Linked DNA regions of Homo sapiens: regions 1, 2, 3, 4, 5 and 6 are each linked to region 7. The links are contacts of gene promoters, found by promoter capture Hi-C in blood cells and fetal thymus (Javierre and others, 2016). All regions are on one chromosome and are shown on one strand. Each heading gives the region's core, a stretch centred on a gene start or on the middle of the fragment in contact. The rest is flanking DNA. Distances are from core to core; before and after follow the strand shown.

Region 1 (2,761 bases), core at 73-2,572, 440 kb before region 7:
GCTAGGTACCATGTGAAATGTGTTGTCATTTACTTGTCACCACAACTGTGAGGTAGATATCATCATCCACATTGACAGATAGCAAAGTAAAGCTCAGAGAACACATGTAAGTGGCCCAAGGTCACACAGCTAAGAGTGTAGGCAGAGACTGAAACCCAAGTCTACCTGACAGAGGGTGAGGCCAGCCACCCCCCCCAACTCCTGCTCTAGAGACAGGATCCAAGCAAACACAGCTTGCTGCATCTATGTTTGTCAAAACACAGGTCGCTTTCCATTAGTAGGTCATGAAATCAATTTAATGGATTATGACCAGCACATATATTTTTAAAAGCACAGAAAATATGATAAGAATATTATTTCATGAAATATTGGTTTTGGCTATACACACTTACATGTGTCTTCTGGATAGCAATTTAAATGCATTTTGTATTGCAAGGGCATGGTCAAACACAATGAAAACTACTGCTCTGGTTAGGTTAATAGAACTGCAGTACTTAATTATGGTATCACTGCTGTGTCTTTGGTCACATGTTATTAATAAATAAAAAATTAAAGTACCAGTTACCTATAGTTTACATATTTTAATAAACATGTACAAATTCATAGCTGTCCCCACAATGATGTCACTCTCACTCAACGGCATTCCAATATGCTTTCTTGAGTGGAGAGAAAGGGTGGAAGTCACAACCAGCAAATTCATTTGATCATTACCTGTAGCTTGTCTTATTTACCCAGTGGTTCTCAAACTTGAGCATACATCAGAATCACCTAGAGGACTTGTGAAAACACAAGCTGCTGGGCCCTATCCCCAGAGTGTGATTCAGTGGATCTGGAGTGGAGCCCAGAGGCTGCCTTTCTAACAAGTTCCCAGGTGCTGCTGCTGCTGCCACTCTAGGGTTCATACTTTGAGAACCACCTTTTTAATCCATGCTCTGTATGGATTTCCTGATGATATGCCATGAACAACTTTTGCCATTATGAATTATCATAGTGCTTTTTACTTCCCCATGATGTATTTTTGGGGAGAGAAGTGCCCATCAAAATCTGTGTGAACTCGCAAAGGCACATCCCTCAAGTGAACACTTCCCACCATACGGGAGGCAAAACCAGAGCTCACCACCATTACTACAGATCAACCATTTATTCCCCAATATTCCAGAACAGGCTCACCCACTGCCATGTGGGTGGTCACTGGTCATCAGACTTAGTCCATAGCTGTCTGTCACCAAAAGTGGGTAACCAGTGTTCAAAAATTCAGAAATCAGTTCTGACTTCTAAAGCATTCCAAAGGAACCCAGGACACAAAACCCAGCCTCGAGCTGCTGCTGCTGCTGCTTCCAGACAGAAACTTGACTTTCCTGGGTGCCTCAGCTCAGAGGGTCCACTGCTCTGTGTCAAGAGTAGCCTTTTTCAGAGTAAACATGAATTCTACATTACTTCCCATTTGTAATTCTTTGCTTAGACAGGCATCCATGAACAGTTCAAGGGGGATGTTAATGAACACAGCCCCTTGGCAAACACCAGATAATGCCTAACCTACTCTTCAAGGGCAGAATGACATGTTCGTAAATATGCCCAGAACTTGCATTGTCTTTCCGGTTTTGAGTTGGTAAAGCTAAACTGAAGGAAAATACTGCAAGGATTTTCTTTGAAATCTGATTTCTGAAGCTGAGTGAGAATAAAAGCAGTTTTAAGTTTTCTTTCTGCAAGGACTTCAGGCACCCCACACCCTCCCACATGCTGTTCCCTGACTCGAAACCTTCCCATCTCTGAGCACTCTGCCTTAACACCTGCTTATCTTTCAGGTCTCAGTTTAAATGTTATTTCCTACAAATGGACTTCCCTGGCCTCCAGGTCAGAACTACATATCCGTCCTCTGAGATTTCACCTGCCCTGTGTGTTCTGCATTGTGCTGGACCATCAGTGTCTTGTCTTTTGCACCTCTAGACAGTGAGCCCTGCCCAGGCAGAAAACGTATCTGCCTCAGTCACCAAGATAACTCCATATACTTATGTTGCCAGGTAAAAGTGAGGGCTCAAGTGTTTATTTGGAATAAAGAATACATGAATAAAAAGTAAATAGCACATGCAAGGAGTTAAACAAACAATACAGAGTTTTTAAAAATGAAAAAAGAAACTAAACTAGAACGTCATTTTCTTTAGTTAAAATATGTTGGAACACCAGGTTAAAATTCTGGAGACAGTGAGGAAAAAGCAAGCAAAATAAAAAGAGAAAGTGAGAGCTTTTCCCATCTTTTGACTCAACCACCAAAAGAAAGTTTGCTTATACTTGGCATAAGCTATCCAGCTTCTTTTGTAAATTAAAAAAAAAAAAAGGCAAAGTTTTCAGGAACCCTCACCATGCCCCAGAAACTATCTCCCACCAGGGAAGTAGAGGGTACATGCATATTGGAGAAAATCTACCACTCATCTCTGAGAATTTTCACAGAAACAGTATTACAGAAATGCAAATTTTTTAATGTTAAAGTAAAGCCTGAGTAGAAATACAAAAATGATACACGACAGCTAGGTGCAGTGGCTCATGCCTGTAATCCCAGTACTTTAGGTGGCAGAGGCGGGTGGATCTCTTGAGTCCAGGAGCTCAAGACCAGCCTGGGCAACATGGTGAAACCCCGTCTCTACAAAAAATACAAAAAACTAGCTGGGTGTGGTGGTGAATGCCTGTAGTCCCAGCTACTTGGAAGGCTGAGGTGGCAGAATCACCTGAGCCCAGGAATTTGAGGCTGCAGTGAGTTGTGATT
Region 2 (2,700 bases), core at 201-2,700, 420 kb before region 7:
GGGCAATGTCGTCATCTCCCCATGCCCCCGTTTCCTCACTTATGTCCCGTGTAAAGTTAATGTAGAATAAAAACAGTAAGAATGCCCTCTGCCCAAAGCTGGCTGTGATGGTCAATGTGACACTGAATGACAAGGAATGGCAAACATTTCTCCTTGAGGAGAGATTTCATTTCTATGCAAATCAAAACTGGAGGGCTTAGAACCAAAAAGGCAGACCTATACTTTGGATGTTCACTCTACTCAAGGATAAGTCCAAATTCAAACCCTGTGCCACCACATACACATAGGCAGATAAAATTCAACGTTGGAGGGGCAATGGGGAAACCAGCAGTGTCTGTAAAAATTTCATTAATAATGATTTTTAAGAGGGGAGGGAAGTATTGGCAATATCGATCAAAATTTTAAATGTGCATTCTCGTTGACTTTAAAAATACCACTTCTAGAGCTCTAGCTTATACTCACATCAGTGTAAGAGAACAGAATATGTGCTCCAATATCTTTGCTGCAGCATGGTTGTAAAGGGATAAAAAAATGAAACAACCTAAAGTCCACTAATAGAGAAATTATTAAAGGAGTATCCATACCATTAGATACAGTTATCCCTCAGTATCCTTGAGCACTCGTTCTTTTTTTTTTTTTTTTTTTTTTTTTGGTTCTTACTCTGTCGCATAGGCTGGAGTGCAGTGGCACGATCTTGGCTCACTGCAACCTCCACCTCCCGGGTTAAGTGATTCTCCCGTCTCAGCCTCCCTAGTAGCTGGGATTACAGGTGTACACCACTACACCCGGCTAATTTTTGTATTTTTAGTAGAGACGGGGTTTCACCATATTGGCCAGGCTGGTCTCAAACTCCTGACCTCAAGTGATCCGCCTGCCTTAGCCTCCCAAAGTGCTGGGATTACAAGCGTGAGCCACCAGCCCCAGCCCCAGGGCACTGGTTCTATGACCACCCACAGATACCAACATCTGCCAATGCTCAAGTCCCTTATATAAAATGGCATAGTATTTGCACATAACCTCCGCACATCCTCCCATATACTTTAAATCATCCTCCCATATACTTTAAATACTTTAAATATATATATTTAAAGTATGTTAATAATAAATATACTTTAAATAATTATATAAGATTGCTTATAATACCTAATATAATACCCATACATCACTTCATGCAAGTGGATATGATGTAGTACTTGGTGTTGCAGCAAATTCAAATTTTGCTTTTCGCAACTTTATGGAATTTTTTTCTTCTGAATATTTCCTTAGTTGAATCCCTGGATATGGAACTCACGGATACAGAGTGCCAACTCTATTTTCGCTATTAAAAAGAATAAAGCAAACATCTTATACGTGATTAAAGAAGACATGTCAAAAAGAGCCAGCTGGATGGGGCTTTCAATGCCAATATTTGGGACAATTTAAATATCAGTGAGAATAATGAAGAAATCACATCAGTGCTGCCTCTTTGAGGGGAAGGAGGGTCAGGGAATGGCTGAAAAAGGTTCAAAGGAAACCTTTTGTGGTTTAGGGTGGGCATTACATGGGCATATACATGTGTCAAAACTAACCAAATTGTGTATTTAATATCCATATACCTCAATATAAAATATTCTTAATTTTTTTTTAAAAATTATAATATGGCCAGGTATGGTGGCTCACACCTATAATCCCAACATTTTGGGAGGCCAAGGCAGGCAGATTGCTTGAGCCCAGGAGTTCAAGACCAGCCTGGGCAACATGGCAAAACCCTATCTCTACAAGATACAAAAATCAGCCAGGCATGGTGGTGCATGCCTATAGTCCCAGCTACTAGTGAGGTTGAGGTGGGAGAACTGCTTGAGCCTGGGAGGTCGAGCCTACAGTGTGCCATGAGTGTACCACTGTACTCCAATCTGGGAGACGAAGTGAGACCCTGTCTCAAAAAAAAAAATTAAAAAAAATAATTCATGCGCCCATATGGATACTAAAAAAGTGTAAGAAGGTCTCTTATATCCAAAAAAAAATGCCTGTAAAAGGAATGACGGAATTAGAAAAACACCATTTCTGCAATACCACCAATGTAATAACTGATTGAACAAAGATCACCAATGGATGCTAAAATCGAAAGTTGTTAAAGGCCAGGTGCAGTGGCTTACACTGGTAATCCCAGCCCTTTGGGAGGCCAAGGTGGGAGCCCAGGAGTTTGAGACCAGCCTGAGAAACTTAGCAAGACCCCATCTCTACTACAAAAAAAAAAAATCAGTCAGGCATGGTGGCACGTGTCTGTAGTCCCAGCTGCTTGAGAGGCTGAGGCAGGAGGATCACTTGGTCCCAGGAGGTGGAAGCTGCAGTGAGCTGTAACCATGCCACTGCACTCCAGCCCGGGCAACACAGCAAGAGCCTATCTTTAAAAAAATAATAATAATAAAGTTGTTGGATGGGGAAAGAGTCACAATTCTCAAAGAATCACCCAACAGATTACATACTATTTACATGGAGGGAAAATATCCTCAAATAGAGAGATCTGATAGACAACACCTTAAACAAGGGACCAAATTTACCACCACCCATAAGAGGACAAACTTATATTCCTGATTGTGATTTAATTGAAAAGACACAGTATCTCCTAAGTACAATTCTTCCTAAAATATTAATATATAACCTGAATCTTACGGTGAGGAAACGATCAGACAACTCTATGTTTGCAACATTCTATAGGAC
Region 3 (2,885 bases), core at 21-2,520, 300 kb before region 7:
CACACCAGTAATCCCAGCACTTTGGGAGTCACTTGGGGCCAGGGTTCGAGATCAGCCTGGCCAACATGGCGAGACCCTGTCTCTACTAAAAATACAAAAATTAGCCAGGCATGGTAAGGCACACCTGTAATCCCAGCTACTCACGAGGCTGAGGCAGGAGAATAACTTGAATTCAGAAGGCAGAGGTTGCAGTAAGCCGAGATCACACCACTGCACTCCAGCCTGGGTGACAGAGCAAGACTCCATCTCAAAAAAAAAAAAAAAAAACTCCACTAAGGACAGTAAGAAAAAGGGAACTTACAGGTAAGCTGACTAAAAATCATAAATGCAAATTTCCTAAACAAAATATTAGCACACAGAAAATAGCAATATAGAAAAAGGATAAAAAGGGATAATATTTAAAAAGGATAAAACATGGGTTTGTCTAAATAATACAAAGTTGATTTAGGAGAAGAAAATCAATTAATACTGTTACCTACAATAACAGAATAGAAGAAGAAACATGAACAACCTAATAATGATTGAAAGTGTATTTGATAAAAACAAATATTCAATATTTTTTAAAGACTCTTAATGAACTGGGAAAAAAAAGATAATTTTCTTAGTCTGAAACACTATAAATAAATATTCATGCACAATGCCTGACAACAGGAACTATCACAAAAGACTCTGAAAAAACCACAACCTTGCACAAAGGCCATCAAAATCTTATACAAACAAAAATACTTCTGTGAGGACATTAAGTGTAATATTTACTACAAGTACAGTGAGATGTTTAAAGCTTTGCCTTTAAATAATGCCTGTTAACACCACTTTTATTTAACAGTGTACTAGAGGGCCTAGCCAGCCTAGTAAGGCAAGTATATGAAAAAAAAACAAAACAAGAATAGGAATTGGAAAGAGAAACAAAACTATCATTATTTGTAGATGATAGGATCACGAATGTGAAAAATTTAAGAGTATCTAAGGATAAATTACTAAATTACTGAGACATTTTAGCAAGATGACACAAATTTGCAAAATCAGTTGTATTTCTACACATTAGAATCAAAAAATAAAAAAACTCAAAAATACCAACTATGCTAGCATAACATACATGAAGTACCCAAGAACTGTGAAAGTTGTCAGAATCAAATGAAGTCACATGTGTTAAAGCCTCTGTCAAGAGCCAGGGAAGCCCATGAAAAGAGGGTTCTCACGCACAGTGCCTGATAACAAGAACTATTACAAAAGACCCTGAAAAAAACCACAACTTTGCACAAAGGCCATCACAAACTTATACACAAAAAAATACTTTTGTGAGGACATCTGCCCAGCAACTGCCTGTGCAACCTTTGACTAGTACCACTCTTGTTATTGATCCTTGTAGCCAAGAACAATTGTCTCAGGCAGCTCAGCAAGGCCACTGTGGCCCGACTGCCAGATTTCTCCTCTCTGAGCAGGGCATCTCTGAAAAAAAGGCAGCATCCCAAGTCAGGGACTTATAGATAAAACCAGCGTCTCCCTGGGACAGAGCACCTGGGGGAAGAGGTGGCTGTGGGCGCAGCCTCAGCAAACTTAAACATCCCTGCCTGATGGCTCTGAAGAGAGCAGCAGACCTCCCAGCACAGCGTTCGAGCTCTGCTAAGGGTCAGACTGCCTCCTCAAGTGGGTCCCTGACACCCGTGTATCCTGACTGGGAGATACCTCCCAGTAGGAGCTGACAGACACCTCATACAGGAGAGCTCTGGCTGGCAACTGGCAGGTGCCCCTCTGGGACGAAGCTTCCAGAGGAAAGAACAGGCAGCAATCTTTGCTGTTCTGCAGCCTCTGCTGGTGATAGCCAGGCAAACAAGGTCTGGAGTGGACTTCCAGCAAACTCTAGCAGAACTGCAACAGAGGGGCCTGACTGTTAGAAGAAAAATTAACAAACGGAAAGGAAGAGCACGTCCACTCAGAGACCCCATCCAAAGGTCACCAACATCAAAGACCAAAGTTAGATAAATCCACAAAGATGGGGAAAAAACAGCACAAAAAGGCTGAAAATTCCAAAAACCAGAACAACTCTTTTCCTCCAAAGGATCACAACTCCTCACCAGCAAGGGAAGAAAACTGGACAGAGAAAAGAGTTCGACGAATTCACAGAAGTAGGCTTCAGAAAGTGGGTAATAACAAACTCCTCTGAGCTAAAGGAGCATGTTCTAACCCAGTGCAAGGAAGCTAAGAACCTTGAAAAAAGGTTAGAGGAATTGCTAACTAGAATAAACAGCTTAGAGAAGAACATAAATTACCTGACGTAGCTGAAAAACACAGCCCGAGAACTTCGTGAAGCCTACACAAGTATCAACAGCCCAATCAATCAAGGAAGAAAGGATATCGGAGATTAAAGATCAACTTAATGAAATAAAGTGAGAAGACAAGATTAGAGAAAAAAGAATAAAAAGGAACAAACAAAGCCTCCAAGAAACATGGGACTACGTGAAAAGACCAAATCTACATTTGATTGGTGTACCTGAAAGTGACAGGGAGAATGGAACCAAGTTGGAAAACACTCTGCAGGATATTATCCAGGAGAATTTCCCCAACCTAGCAAGATAGGCCAGCATTCAAATTCAGGAAATAGAGAGAATACCACAAAGATACTCCTCGAGAAGAGCAACCCCAAGACACATAATCATCAGATTCACCAAGGTTGAAATGAAGGAAAAAATGTTAAGGGCAGCCAGAGAGAAAGGTCGGTTTACCCACAAAGGGAAGCCCATCAGACTAACAGCGGATCTCTCTACAGAAACCCTATAAGCCGGAAGAGAGTGGAGGCCAATATTCAACATTCTTGAAGAAAAGAAATTTCAACCCAGAATTTCATATTCAGCCAAACTAAGCTTTGTAAGCAAAGGAGAAATGAA
Region 4 (2,881 bases), core at 205-2,704, 280 kb before region 7:
CTGTATTTTCTTATATTGTCTACTAATATTTTTTTGAGTCTGTTTTCTCAAATTCTTTCACCTGGGATTTATTCTAGTGTATAGTACGAAACTAAATTAATATTTTTTCTAAGCAGCTAGTTAACTATTCCAGCAACAGTTACTTAATAATTCTTTCCTTCCCTAGAAATCCTTACTGCTGGCTGGGAACGGTGGCTCACGCCTGTAATCCCAGCATTTTGGGAGGCAGAAGTGGGCAGATCACTTGAGGCCAGGAGTTCGAGACCAGCCTGGGCAGCATGGAAAAACCCCATCTCTACAAAAAATACAAAAATTAGCTGGGTGTGGTGGCACATATCTGTAGTCCCAGCTACTCAGGAGGCTGAGGCAGGAGAACTGCTTGAACCCAGGAGGCAGAGGTTGCAGTGAGCTGAGATCACACCACTGCACTCCAGCCTCAGTGACAGAGTGAGACCCCATCTCAAAAAAAAAAAAAAAGCAATCCTTACTGCTTTCACTGTCATATATTAACACGTTATATATACCAGGGTCTATTTCTGTCTATTCCATTCCTTGATCTGTCTGCTAATTCTTGGCCCAGCATTACGTTGATTTAATTATTCACACTTTATAATATTTTAAAATATTTGGTGTTGTTAATCATGCTTTTCATTTTAATTATTCCATTTTTCAAAGCTATTTTCACTTACAAATACTTTATAAGTAATTTTTTATAACCTCTCTTGGGATTTTCATTGAAATTGAATTATATCTACAATTTAACTTGGGAAGAAACAAAATCTTTATAATATTCGGTCTTTCCATCCAAACATTCCTTTTTCCCATTTAATCTTTCTTGAAGGCATTAATGTATTTCCTGGTGATTCTGGAGAAAACAGAAGTATTAATCAGTAGGCTTCCCTTTATATATATACCTTAATTCCTAAGCACACCCAACCTTGATGACAAAGAAGTGTCTTTGAAAAGGAAAAAAAATAAATGGACATTGTGTGTTAGCTCCTCATCGTTTGTTTACATCAGATTATAATAGCTCTCTATGTGTACCTAGGTGAGCAAAAATGTTAACAACAGTGGACCCCTCACCTCAGAACACAGATTTACACCAAACATCCCCTTAAAAGTTTTTTTAAAAATGACTCTGGTTTTGTCATTTCTCAATTTCCCACACTCATTACAGACTTCCTTTAGAATAATAAACAATAAACTCTGTTATTAACTCAAATTTTATGTTTCTACTAAGCGAAATTCTAAACAACAGCAACAGTAATAACTACTATCTATTGAATATCTACTATGTTCTATCATTAATCTTCAAAATAATCCTGCAGGATAGGTGGCTATATTCACCTTATAGGAAAGGAATCAAAAGCTTAGAGAGCAGAGGAGCAAATCCTTCCCTGCTCCGCGTTCAGCCACCCCAGCGATGCTTTATGCTTGTTTTTATTATTTGTAACACTTTGGGAAGTTATTAAAGGAAGATCTATTGCTTCCTCCTTTTGGGGTAGAACTGGATGGCAAAAAATAAAATAAAATAAAAATAAAAGCTTAGAGAGAAGCTCAAGATCACCCAGCTAGGTAATGCTGGAGAATCCAAATTCAGACCTAGCTCTCTCCCACTCAAGCTGACTCTCAAAATCATCATGATCACAGATAACTAAAATGATCTCTTAATATCCACCAAACCTGTGGCACCACTAGCTTTTGCCAATACTCTATATATGGAAAAGGTACTTTCCAATAGCCCTACAATCTTCCAAAGTTTGCTACTCTCTGTATTTTAAATACAAACAGGTAAATAAGTAATGGGACATTGCTAAAAGTTGACTGGGGAAAGAAATACAAGCCACTGAACTGCTTTGATAGTATCTGCTCTTCAGGTTCTTACAGAGGAGGAGATTGGCTTCACGTCCATAGTACACATCCCACTCCTACTCTACCTGCAAGTCCCCCCAGCCAGTGACCCAGCAGGATTCTATAAAACACAGACACACAATGTCAATGTTGTTGACTGCCTGGAAATTTTGAGTTTCTTTAGGGTAGTTTGATGTATTTGGGTAGGGAAACAGGATTGAATCACACAGCCTGGCCCTAAAATGTAGGGTTCTATCACTGAGTCCTTGGCTTAGGAAATGTAGTATTTGAAAATGTTGTGTGCTCATCCACTAGACCATGCCACAAATATTTTCAACCATACTCAATCTTCTACAACCTTGTTTTCTAAAGTCTTCAAACACTCACTATAAGGAAATATTTCTTATATTTAATATAAATCTTACTTTTTGAGTCTTTTATAAATGAGAAGTAGGCCCCTTCTTGTAATAATTTTTCAAATACAGGAAAAGCGCTTTTTAGTCCCCACTTTCATCTATAGTCTATAAGCAGCTCAGCTGTTGTCAGCTCCAAAGTAGTTGATAAAAATCTTATATTTATAATACATACTTGCTCAGAAACTTGGCATTAATTTCAATTTCAAAAGTATCTTCATTAATCTTATAAATTACTGCAAAATCTGGAATAGCACCATCTCTTTTTTTAAACTTTTAAGTTCAGGGGTGCAAGTGCAGGTTTGTTACATAGGTAAACTGGTGTCATGGGCGTTTTTTGTACAGATTATTTCATCACCCAGATATTAAGCCTAGTACCCATTAGTTATTTTTCCTGATCCTGTCCCTCCTCCTACCCACTACCCTCTGAAAGGCCCCAGTGTGTGCTGCTGCCCTCTATGTGTCCATCTCTTAACTAACAGTAAATGCTCTAAGAACAACCATTAATGTTTACTAATAATTTTCCAGGAATATTTAAGTTAAATGTCTGATTTTGGCCGTGCTAATTTAAAAAAAAAATATATATATATATATATACATATATATATGCCAGAAAA
Region 5 (2,775 bases), core at 90-2,589, 460 kb before region 7:
CAGATTGGCTTTGGTGATGACGTACCAGTGTTCTGGTCCCCGTGAAAAAGGATACATGAGGATGGAGTGCACATGGCCTTGGCAGCACGCCCAGTAGAGGCAGTGCTTTGTAGGGAGGGAGACATGAGGTGAAACCAATTGCAAAAATCCAAAAACAGAAAACATGACTGGCTAGCTTTCAGTGGAGGGACCCTTCCCCGGAAGACGACACATAAAAGTAGCCTCTCCCGCATGAAAGTCTAGCTTCTCAGTGGTGGGGGAGGGGCAGGGAATTCACCTATCATCTGAAATTGAGAGCTTCTGTGAATGGCATACATCAGATCCCAACCCCAGCCTCATCCCCATCACACAGACACACCGAAACAAGTCTCAAAATTTCCTCAGAGAAGGAGAAAGGACATTTCTCATTCCATCAGCTTCCAACCCACAGCCAGGTAGAGTTATGAAGCCACAGTCATCCCCACTTCATAGTGAGACCAGAGCACTCAACTAAAACATGCCTTGCTTCCTTTGGAGACATTTCTTCCAGGTCCCCCAAAGCTGGATATTTTAGCCTCTTCTGAAGGCTTCTAAAAATTCTGGGTACCTTGTTGTTCTCCAAGCATCTTGTTGAAGTAACATGTGCTTAACATCAGAAAGAGAAGTTTTGTCTTTAGGAGAGTTGCACATTTAGGGCACAATAAATATACAGTAAATACACAAAGTGGCTCACTGGCTGGGAAGACTTCGGGGTTTCTAACTGCAGGGGCTGGGGGATGCCAATCTCCTGCAGCACCTGCTTGGAAGTAGCCCAGTCGTATCAGAAGTCCAACATCAGGATTTATAAAGTTCCTTGGCTTCCTGTAGGTGGATTCTCAAAGTAGGGAGGGTGTCCCAGACTGCAAGGTATGAGACTATTCTCCAGACACAAGACTTCCCCTGCTTATGCCAGAAATTTCAGCATGAGCAATTTGCTAGTTTAGGAACAGCACAACTTTAAGGTTTTTTAAATACAAATTACTCCATGCCCCCTCAAATGCCCGCTCCTCAAGATGCTTGAAGTTCTATTGTTAATAATTTTTACCTGTGAATTAGCAAAGCTCTCACCAAGCTCCCTTTTTAAAATGCAAGCACATCTTAGGAAGCCTCAAATCCAAGGCCCACTGATATCTCCTACCTCACAGGGAAAGCAGTAGTGGGGTTCTTGGGGGTTGGGGAGAGGGTGCACACCCTGGAATAGGGGGAAAGCACAAGAAAAAGAAGACAAGGACATTAGACAGACTTGACCACTGTCACAAAGTGCCAAGGGCCAGCTCTAGTGGTATATTCCTTTGAAGCCATCCAATGTCCATCTGAATCACACACGACCCCATCCAACACAGGCACAAATCTATCTTTGGGTCTGGAGGAGGGTGACCTCTTATTTATCCTCCAGACCAGAACACTTCTGAGTAAAATGGGGTGCTGTGAATAATTAAACTGGGATAATAAGTATAAATGGGGACTGTCCTGTCCTGGGAAAACCTAAAAGTAGGACCCTCTCTGAGACCATTATAGGCAGGAACTGAATCCTTACCACTTTGGTTTTTTGTTTTTTTCCTGTTTTTGTTTTGTTTTGTTTTGTTTTTCAGTGTTACCCGAGGCTTCTCTGAAGAGCTAGTTTTCCCAGCTGAAGAGACATAACACCTCCCAGGCCTGGAATCTATGACATCAAAGACCAATGGCCTAAACCTGAAGACTGGGCAGTTCTCATCTGCTTCCTGTAGGAGAACTCAAGGAAAAACAGTGAGCTGAGAAGCACAGGGAACCCATTTGTCCCTTATTCTAGCACACAGAGGACACGGTGCAGCTTCGAGAATTTTCCAGCTCTTCTGCAGACAAAGTCACAGTAGTTAAAGTACATAAGTGGGTGTGGCCAGAGAACTGCCCCTCTCACTGGTTATTTCTGGACATTCCCAGACTGTCCAACTGGACCTTCAGAAGAAAGCAGCTTTAGTAGTCTCAGGGTCCCCATGGGACAAATCCAGAAGAGAGGTCTCTGTGACTTGATTTTTAACACAGCGAAAGGATCAGTAGTAAAGAAATCCAGTAGACTGTCACACACGCTCACCCCCCAACTTAGAGAAACATAGAGAAACACCATGGTCTACACACACACACACACACACACACACTCCAGGGTCTGTATTGTCCCTGTAGAAACACCAAAACAAAGCCCAAAGGTGCTGCCTGGGGATGTCAAGACCCCCCTTGCTCAGGGCATAGGCCAGAGCACCTCAGGGGAACGGGGGTGGGTAATGGTGTCCACACTGCGATGAACAACACCAGTCTGCCAAGTCAGAGGAGAGCGGTTCTCACAGCAGCACAGACCCTCCCAAGCAAGTTGAATCCAGTCACCAAGGTCCTGCTGTTCAGAGTCACAGGCAGCACCTGCTCCTTCCTCCACCTCCTGGCAGTAGGAGTTTGGGTCACAAGGACTTGTGAATCACGGCAACACCTAATAAGAAAGGGGGAGAAAGTTATCATCTTAGCTTCTCCAAAATTACTCAGAGTCCCAGTGAGTTCATGAATCCAAGATATCCTGAGTCACAGCCAAGGGAAATGTGTGCAATTTTTATCCTAATATTGAAGTGGACTCAGGCTGCTAGCAGCTGGCTGTTCCCCACTCCAACAGCCAAGTCCTGGCAAGACACTTGAACCTACGAGCACAGTCCCTCAAACACCACTGACTAGTGGCCTCACCCTGTGTCATCACATGGACTCACTGTGGTGACTCCCATCCCCAGCCCTAGCACC
Region 6 (2,700 bases), core at 161-2,660, 320 kb before region 7:
TTGAACTTCAGCCTCTCCTAAAAGTTCATGATAAATGTCCTTAGCAGCAGGCAGGAACAATTCTTCACCAACGGTAAAGGGCTTCTTAGCTTTAGCAATGCAGTTAGCCACTAAGAATGATGCTCTCAGTGCAGATACATTTGATGAAGTGGTGGCCTTCAATAATTGCTTCTGGTTTTTTGTTTGCTTGTTTTTGAGACAGGGTCTTTCTCTTTCACCCAGGCTGGAGTGCAGTGGTGCAATCTTGGCTCACTGCAACCTCTGCCTCCTGGGTTCAAGTGATTCTCATGCCTCAGCCTCCCGAGTAGCTGGGACTACAGGTGCGTACCACCACACCCAGCTAATTTTTGTATTTTCAGTAGAGACGGAGTTTCACCATATTGACCAGGCTGGTCTCAAACTCTTGGCCTCAAGCAATCCACCCACCTCAGCCTCCCAAAGTGCTGGGATTACAGGTGTGAGCCACCATGCCTGGCCAGTTGCTTCTGTTCTTTGTGTTCATTTGAAAAACTCAAAAGCCTTGTGTTTTAATGCAAGGTGCTAGGTTTCCATGTGGAGAAGCAGTTTTGAAGGTTTCATGGCTTTGTTGGATAGCCGGTTGCCACATGTTATACAAAGTGGGCTTGTAGAATGTTAATCACTTGTTGCAATGAGCCTGTAATTTAAGTAGGACTCTTGGTATTTTCTTTTAAATGCAGCTTTGTTTTTGATGGAAGTCTTAATGTCTTCTGATGTCTCATCATTCAGTCTGTCCCCCTTGACAAAGAAGCTCTCCAGTGACATTTGTTTTTTACTCATTTTGGCTAGGGTTAGCTTGTGGGCTTACCAAAACTATGACTGAGACAAGTGCATAGCATGGGAAAGAGGCACGGATGGAAGTGGTAAATAAAATAATGGGCAGGCCATGCTCAGACTAAAGTTAAGTGTCAGATTCTGACAGCCTGCCACCAGATGTAGCTGTACAATTGAAGTACATCAATTCACTTGCCACTATAAAGCCTACTGCCAGCCACGGCTTAATTGTCACTTGCCACTCACTGATAGGGTTTTGATATGAGTCTGCGACTTATTATGGTCTCTGTGCAGTCAGACCTCCCTGCTAATGTTAATCTGTATTTGCAGCCACTCCCCCACATTAGCATTACCACCTCAGCTCCACCTCAGATCATCAGGCATTAGATTCTCATAAGAAGTGCACAACCTAGATACCTCACATGTTCAGTTCACAATAGGGTTCATGCCCTATGAGAATCTAATCCCGCTGCTGCTGTGACAGTAGACGGAGCTCAGGTGGTAATGTGAGCCATGGGGAGCAGCTGTAAATACAAATGAAGCTTCACTCGCTCACCCACCGCTCACCTCCTGCTGTGCAGCCCAGTTCCTAACAGGCCATAGACTGATACCAGTCCATGGCCCAGGAGGTGGGAACCCCTGATCTATGCCACCTAAATGGGGATCCATTAGGGTTTTCATTTCTATTGGCTAATAAAGCTTCACAGAGGTAAATGTCAGGTCTAGACACCTTACATACAGTAGGGTATAGGGATGATCAGAGACAATACAAGAATGTTGTAGAGACATTAAGAAAGCCAGGATATATGCAGTATGACTGGAATGTTAAGTTTTTTTGTGTTTGTTTGTTTTTTTGAGACAAGAGTCTGACGCCCAGGCTGGAATGCAGTGGTGCAATCTCAGCTCAGTGCAATCTCCGCCTCCAGGGTTCAAGCGATTCTCCTGCCTCAGCCTCCTGAGTAGCTGGAATTACAGGCATGTGCCACCACTCTCAGCTAATTTTTGTATATTTATTAGAGACAGAGTTTCACCGTGTTGACCAGGCTGGTCTTGAACTCCTGACCTCAGGTGATCCATCTGCCTCTGGCTCCCAAAGTACTGGGATTACAGGCATGAGTCACCACACCAGGCCAGAATGTTAGATTCTTTTTGGAGATTAGATCAGTAAAGGTAGGGACAGTCAATAAAAGGAGTATTATGTAAACACTTAAATGATGCAGTCAATTTCCTACTCTACGTCATTAAGGAGGAAAAACTATTTTTTTCTACTTTGCCTTTTAGATCACTGCCTGAGTTTACTTTGTTTCTTTAACTCGCTTACAGGTGTCTAAGCCTTCCAAAATAAAACACTTAAAAATAAAACTGAAATTTAGACTGCCTTTGGCTTCCATCCCTCCTGCAAGCTTGATTACAAAAAGCTAATGGAATGTGATGGTTACACAAGTCATAGAACCACACACTAAAAAGAGTGTGTTTTAATATTAAATTATACGTAGACAGAGAAAGAATGAACTGAGAAAGAAAGGAAAGACTATGGCCAGCTATATTTCCAGAAAGCAGCAACTGTGATTTTTTAAAATTAGCTTTTTATTGGATCCATGTTTGTTTTACAGTTAGGATTCTGCTATGGACTAAATTGTGCACCCCTGGTCCCCACGCTCAAATTCATATATTCAAGCCATAACTCCCAGTACCTCCAAATGTAACCATAATTGAAGATAAGGTTTCGAAAGAGGTGATTACATTAAAATGATGTCATTAGGGTGGGGCCCTACTTCAATATGTCTGGTGTCATAAGAAAGACAACAGGAGCACAAGTGCATAAAGGGACGACCATCTGCAAGCCAAGGAGGAGAGGCCTCAGAAGAACCCCAGACTGCCAGCACTTCATCTTTGACCTCCAGCCTC
Region 7 (3,102 bases), core at 76-2,575:
CTCTACTAAAAATACAAAAATTAGCTGGGCATGGTGGCGCACACCTGTAATCCCAGCTACTCCGGAGGCTGAGGCAGGAGAATTGCTCGATCCCAGGAAGTGGAGGTTGCAGTGAGCCGAGATCATGCCACTGCACTCCAGCCTGGCGACAGAGTGAGACTCCATCTCAAAATAAATAAATAAATAAATAAATAAATAAATAAATAAATAAATAAAATAAAATAAAAGACAGATTCCCACCTAAGGAGCTGAAGTCCTAGTAACAAAGTAGTATCAGAAAGAAAGGCATCAGGGCCACGCCCAGTGGCTCATGCCTATAATCCCAGCATTTTGGGAGGCCAAGGTGGGCAGATCACTTGAGCCCAGGAGTTCAAGACCAGGCTGGCCAACTGGCGAAACCCCTTCTCTACTAAAAATACAAAATTTAGCTGGGTGTGGTGGCTGGCACCTGTAGTCTCAGATACTTGGGAGGCTGAGGTAGGAGAATCACTTGAACCCAGGAGGCAGAGGTTGTAGTGAGCTGAGATTGCACCACTGCACTCCAGCCTGGGCGACAGAGCGAGAGACTCTGTCTCAAAAAAAAAAAAAAAAGAGAAAGGCATCAGTCTTCCCAAATATAACCCTGGGTGGCCCTAAGGTTGGTTCTCAGATATATAAAAAATCAACTAACTGGAGTTGTAACCCTCAGATATAAAAGGATAGATTTGCTAGGAATTAAGGAAATTTCCCAGCAGTTGCTAGAATGTGGTGGAAGGGACTGTTGCAGAGATGGACTCTGAAGTGTTCCTGCTCCATAGTCCCACAGCTCCATCACCTCACAGCCTTGAAGGAAGTGGTAGGGATGGCGCACTCACTGGTTTAGGTAAATGAGTAGGAAGCAGCCCCAGATGGAGTTGCTTTATGATTATTAACACCTTGGGGAGGATGGCAGGACAGAGAGTGGGCTCTCACTGACAGATGAGGACACTGTAGCTCCAAGAATAGGTGACCTGCCTTCAGGGTTAAGGACCCAGCCTGCTCTGGCCTACATGATTCTGAGAAATGGGCCAAAGAAGCAGGAAGAGACAAAATTGACATATAGAAGAAAGAAATCTCACGTATAGGAGAAAAGCAGCCTCCTTCTCATTCTGGGAGGGAAGAAGGGCTGGAGGGGCTGGGCAGGGCGGGGCTTTTGGCGAAAACTGAGTCCCTCCTCCCAGATCCCCCACTGGGCCGGTGGCTCCTGCAGCCCTGCCAGTTAGGAACAAATGAGAAGAGCTGCTGATTTCCTCCCTTGGACATTCAGAATTTTCTCACATAAATACTGAGGAAGACCCTGCCCTCTCCTCACTTCTCTGGACTTGGCCCTGAGCTGGACCTGGTCCACTGGGGTAGGCAGGGCGATGGGGAACCTGTTTATGCTCTGGGCAGCTCTGGGCATATGCTGTGCTGCATTCAGTGCCTCTGCCTGGTAAGTCCTTTCCCAACCCTCACTCCTTGCCAAGGAGGCCCCCATTGTCTCATCCCCATTCACCTCTGCCTCACTTTTTCTCTTTTTGGTAGGTCAGTGAACAATTTCCTGATAACAGGTCCCAAGGTAGGATGATCTCCAGCTTCTGTTTTTACCCACTGAGGGCCCTAAGGGGACTCTTCTGGAGAAAAGAGGGGCGGGGACAGTGCCAGAGCCCCTCACCCAGAGGAACCCATGGTTGATTCTTAATGGAGAGCTGGCCCATCTGAGTCCTGCCTGCTCCCCCAACCACAGATGACCCATACCGGGCAGAAGCTCACAGCCCTTTTCCCTTTGCCAGGCCTATCTGACCTACACGACTAGTGTGGCCTTGGGTGCCCAGAGTGGCATCGAGGAGTGCAAGTTCCAGTTTGCTTGGGAACGCTGGAACTGCCCTGAAAATGCTCTTCAGCTCTCCACCCACAACAGGCTGAGAAGTGGTAAGTTTGTGTGGGACTCACCTGTACAAGGGGTATATATGTGAATGGAGTGGGGCTTGCAGTATGTGTATATGTGTGACATGTATTGCACAGTGAAATAAAAATGCTGCCAGTGACCTGCTGACCTGCCATTTCCTTGCTGTGTGGCCTTGAGTAAATTACCTACCCTCTCTCAGCCCCAGATTTGTCATTTGGGTCAGTAAGGCCAGTTCTGTTTAGTTCATCAGAAGTATCCTATGGGTTGAATGAGGTGGGTATGAGGTGTCTCTATGTATGAGATAAATGTAGGAAATTACTCTTTTTTTTTTTTCTTTTTTTGAGACGGAGTCTCACTCTGTTGCCCAGGCTGGAGTGCAATGGCGCAATCTCGGCTTACCGCAACTTCCGCCTCCGGAGTTCAAGTGATTCTCCTGCCTCAGCCTCCCGAGTAGCTGGGATTACAGGCATGCAACATGCCTGGCTAATTTTTTGTATTTTTAGTAGAGATGGGGTTTCACCATGTTGGCCAGGCTGGTCTCAAACTCCTGACCTCAGGTGATCCACCCACCTCAGCCTCCAAAAGTGCTGGGATTACAGGCGTAAGCCACCGTGCCCAGCGGAAATTACTCTATTTTTTAAATGCATGCCTATATTTGTGCGTTTGTACACACTGATCTTGCACTGAGTTGCATGAAATAAAAATGGGGAAAGGGCTGTGTGTTTGCAGCTCCTGAGGAAGTTTCACATGGCTAACTGCCATAAAATCTCAACAGAAAAGCTGAGACGTCACATTGAGTTGTGCCTCAGGTGGGGTGTGTGTCTATGTGTGTGTATGGGTGTGCACGTGCACCCATTTGTAACTGTGTGCCGTAGTTTGCATGTCATTTTTGAAGATAACATTCACCTGAGAATAGTTAGGGGAACGAGAGTAAAGAAGACGGAGAAAGTGGCTAAGCACGTGTTGGAACCATGCCTATAATCCCAGCACTTTGGAAGGCTAAGGCAGGAGGATCGCTTGAGTTCAGGAGTTCGAGACCAGCCTGGGCAACATAGCAAGACCTCGTCTCTACTAAAAATAAAAGTAAAAATATTAGCCGGCATGGTAGCATGTGCCTGTAGTCCCAGAGACCTGGAAGGCTGAGTTGGGAGGATTTCTGGAACCCAGGAGTTCAAGGATATAGTGAGCTATGATCA

Evidence for each region. Contacts are between HindIII fragments. The CHiCAGO score rates a contact against its expected background, and 5 or more counts as called.
Region 1: a fragment that was not itself captured here is called in contact with the fragment with the promoter of WNT8A in region 7 in 4 of 17 cell types (naive CD4 T cells, naive CD8 T cells, total CD4 T cells and 1 more); the score reaches 7.8 in naive CD4 T cells.
Region 2: a fragment that was not itself captured here is called in contact with the fragment with the promoter of WNT8A in region 7 in 1 of 17 cell types (naive B cells); the score reaches 5.7 in naive B cells.
Region 3: a contact is called between a fragment that was not itself captured here and the fragment with the promoter of WNT8A in region 7, in 1 of 17 cell types (total B cells). The highest score is 7.4, in total B cells.
Region 4: a fragment that was not itself captured here is called in contact with the fragment with the promoter of WNT8A in region 7 in 1 of 17 cell types (total B cells); the score reaches 5.2 in total B cells.
Region 5: a fragment that was not itself captured here is called in contact with the fragment with the promoter of WNT8A in region 7 in 6 of 17 cell types (total CD4 T cells, activated CD4 T cells, total CD8 T cells and 3 more); the score reaches 8.6 in total CD4 T cells.
Region 6: a contact is called between a fragment that was not itself captured here and the fragment with the promoter of WNT8A in region 7, in 2 of 17 cell types (total B cells and naive B cells). The highest score is 10.1, in total B cells.

The regions. Positions count from the first base shown.
Region 1 is chr5:137,640,546-137,643,306 of GRCh38, forward strand. All of the region lies in intron 8 of KLHL3 (kelch like family member 3), which reads right to left. Among named protein-coding and RNA genes, the nearest start is that of MIR874, 5.7 kb to the right of the region's middle. The HindIII fragment of the contact is 6,724 bases long and covers 1-2,761 here.
Region 2 is chr5:137,662,431-137,665,130 of GRCh38, forward strand. The region is part of intron 6 of KLHL3 (kelch like family member 3); the gene reads right to left. Among named protein-coding and RNA genes, the nearest start is that of MIR874, 16 kb to the left of the region's middle. The HindIII fragment of the contact is 3,612 bases long and covers 1-2,700 here.
Region 3 is chr5:137,781,981-137,784,865 of GRCh38, forward strand. No RefSeq gene overlaps it. Among named protein-coding and RNA genes, the nearest start is that of HNRNPA0, 29 kb to the left of the region's middle. The HindIII fragment of the contact is 982 bases long and covers 780-1,761 here.
Region 4 is chr5:137,798,175-137,801,055 of GRCh38, forward strand. No RefSeq gene overlaps it. Among named protein-coding and RNA genes, the nearest start is that of HNRNPA0, 45 kb to the left of the region's middle. The HindIII fragment of the contact is 175 bases long and covers 1,368-1,542 here.
Region 5 is chr5:137,619,651-137,622,425 of GRCh38, forward strand. KLHL3 (kelch like family member 3) reads right to left here. Exons shown (of 15, transcript NM_017415.3): 15 at 1-2,476. The coding sequence ends at 2,448. Among named protein-coding and RNA genes, the nearest start is that of MIR874, 27 kb to the right of the region's middle. The HindIII fragment of the contact is 4,842 bases long and covers 1-2,775 here.
Region 6 is chr5:137,759,199-137,761,898 of GRCh38, forward strand. No RefSeq gene overlaps it. Among named protein-coding and RNA genes, the nearest start is that of HNRNPA0, 6.2 kb to the left of the region's middle. The HindIII fragment of the contact is 157 bases long and covers 1,333-1,489 here.
Region 7 is chr5:138,082,708-138,085,809 of GRCh38, forward strand. WNT8A (Wnt family member 8A) reads left to right here and starts at 1,326. Exons shown (of 5, transcript NM_001300939.2): 1 at 1,326-1,576; 2 at 1,791-1,929. The coding sequence starts at 1,421. The HindIII fragment of the contact is 12,012 bases long and covers 1-3,102 here.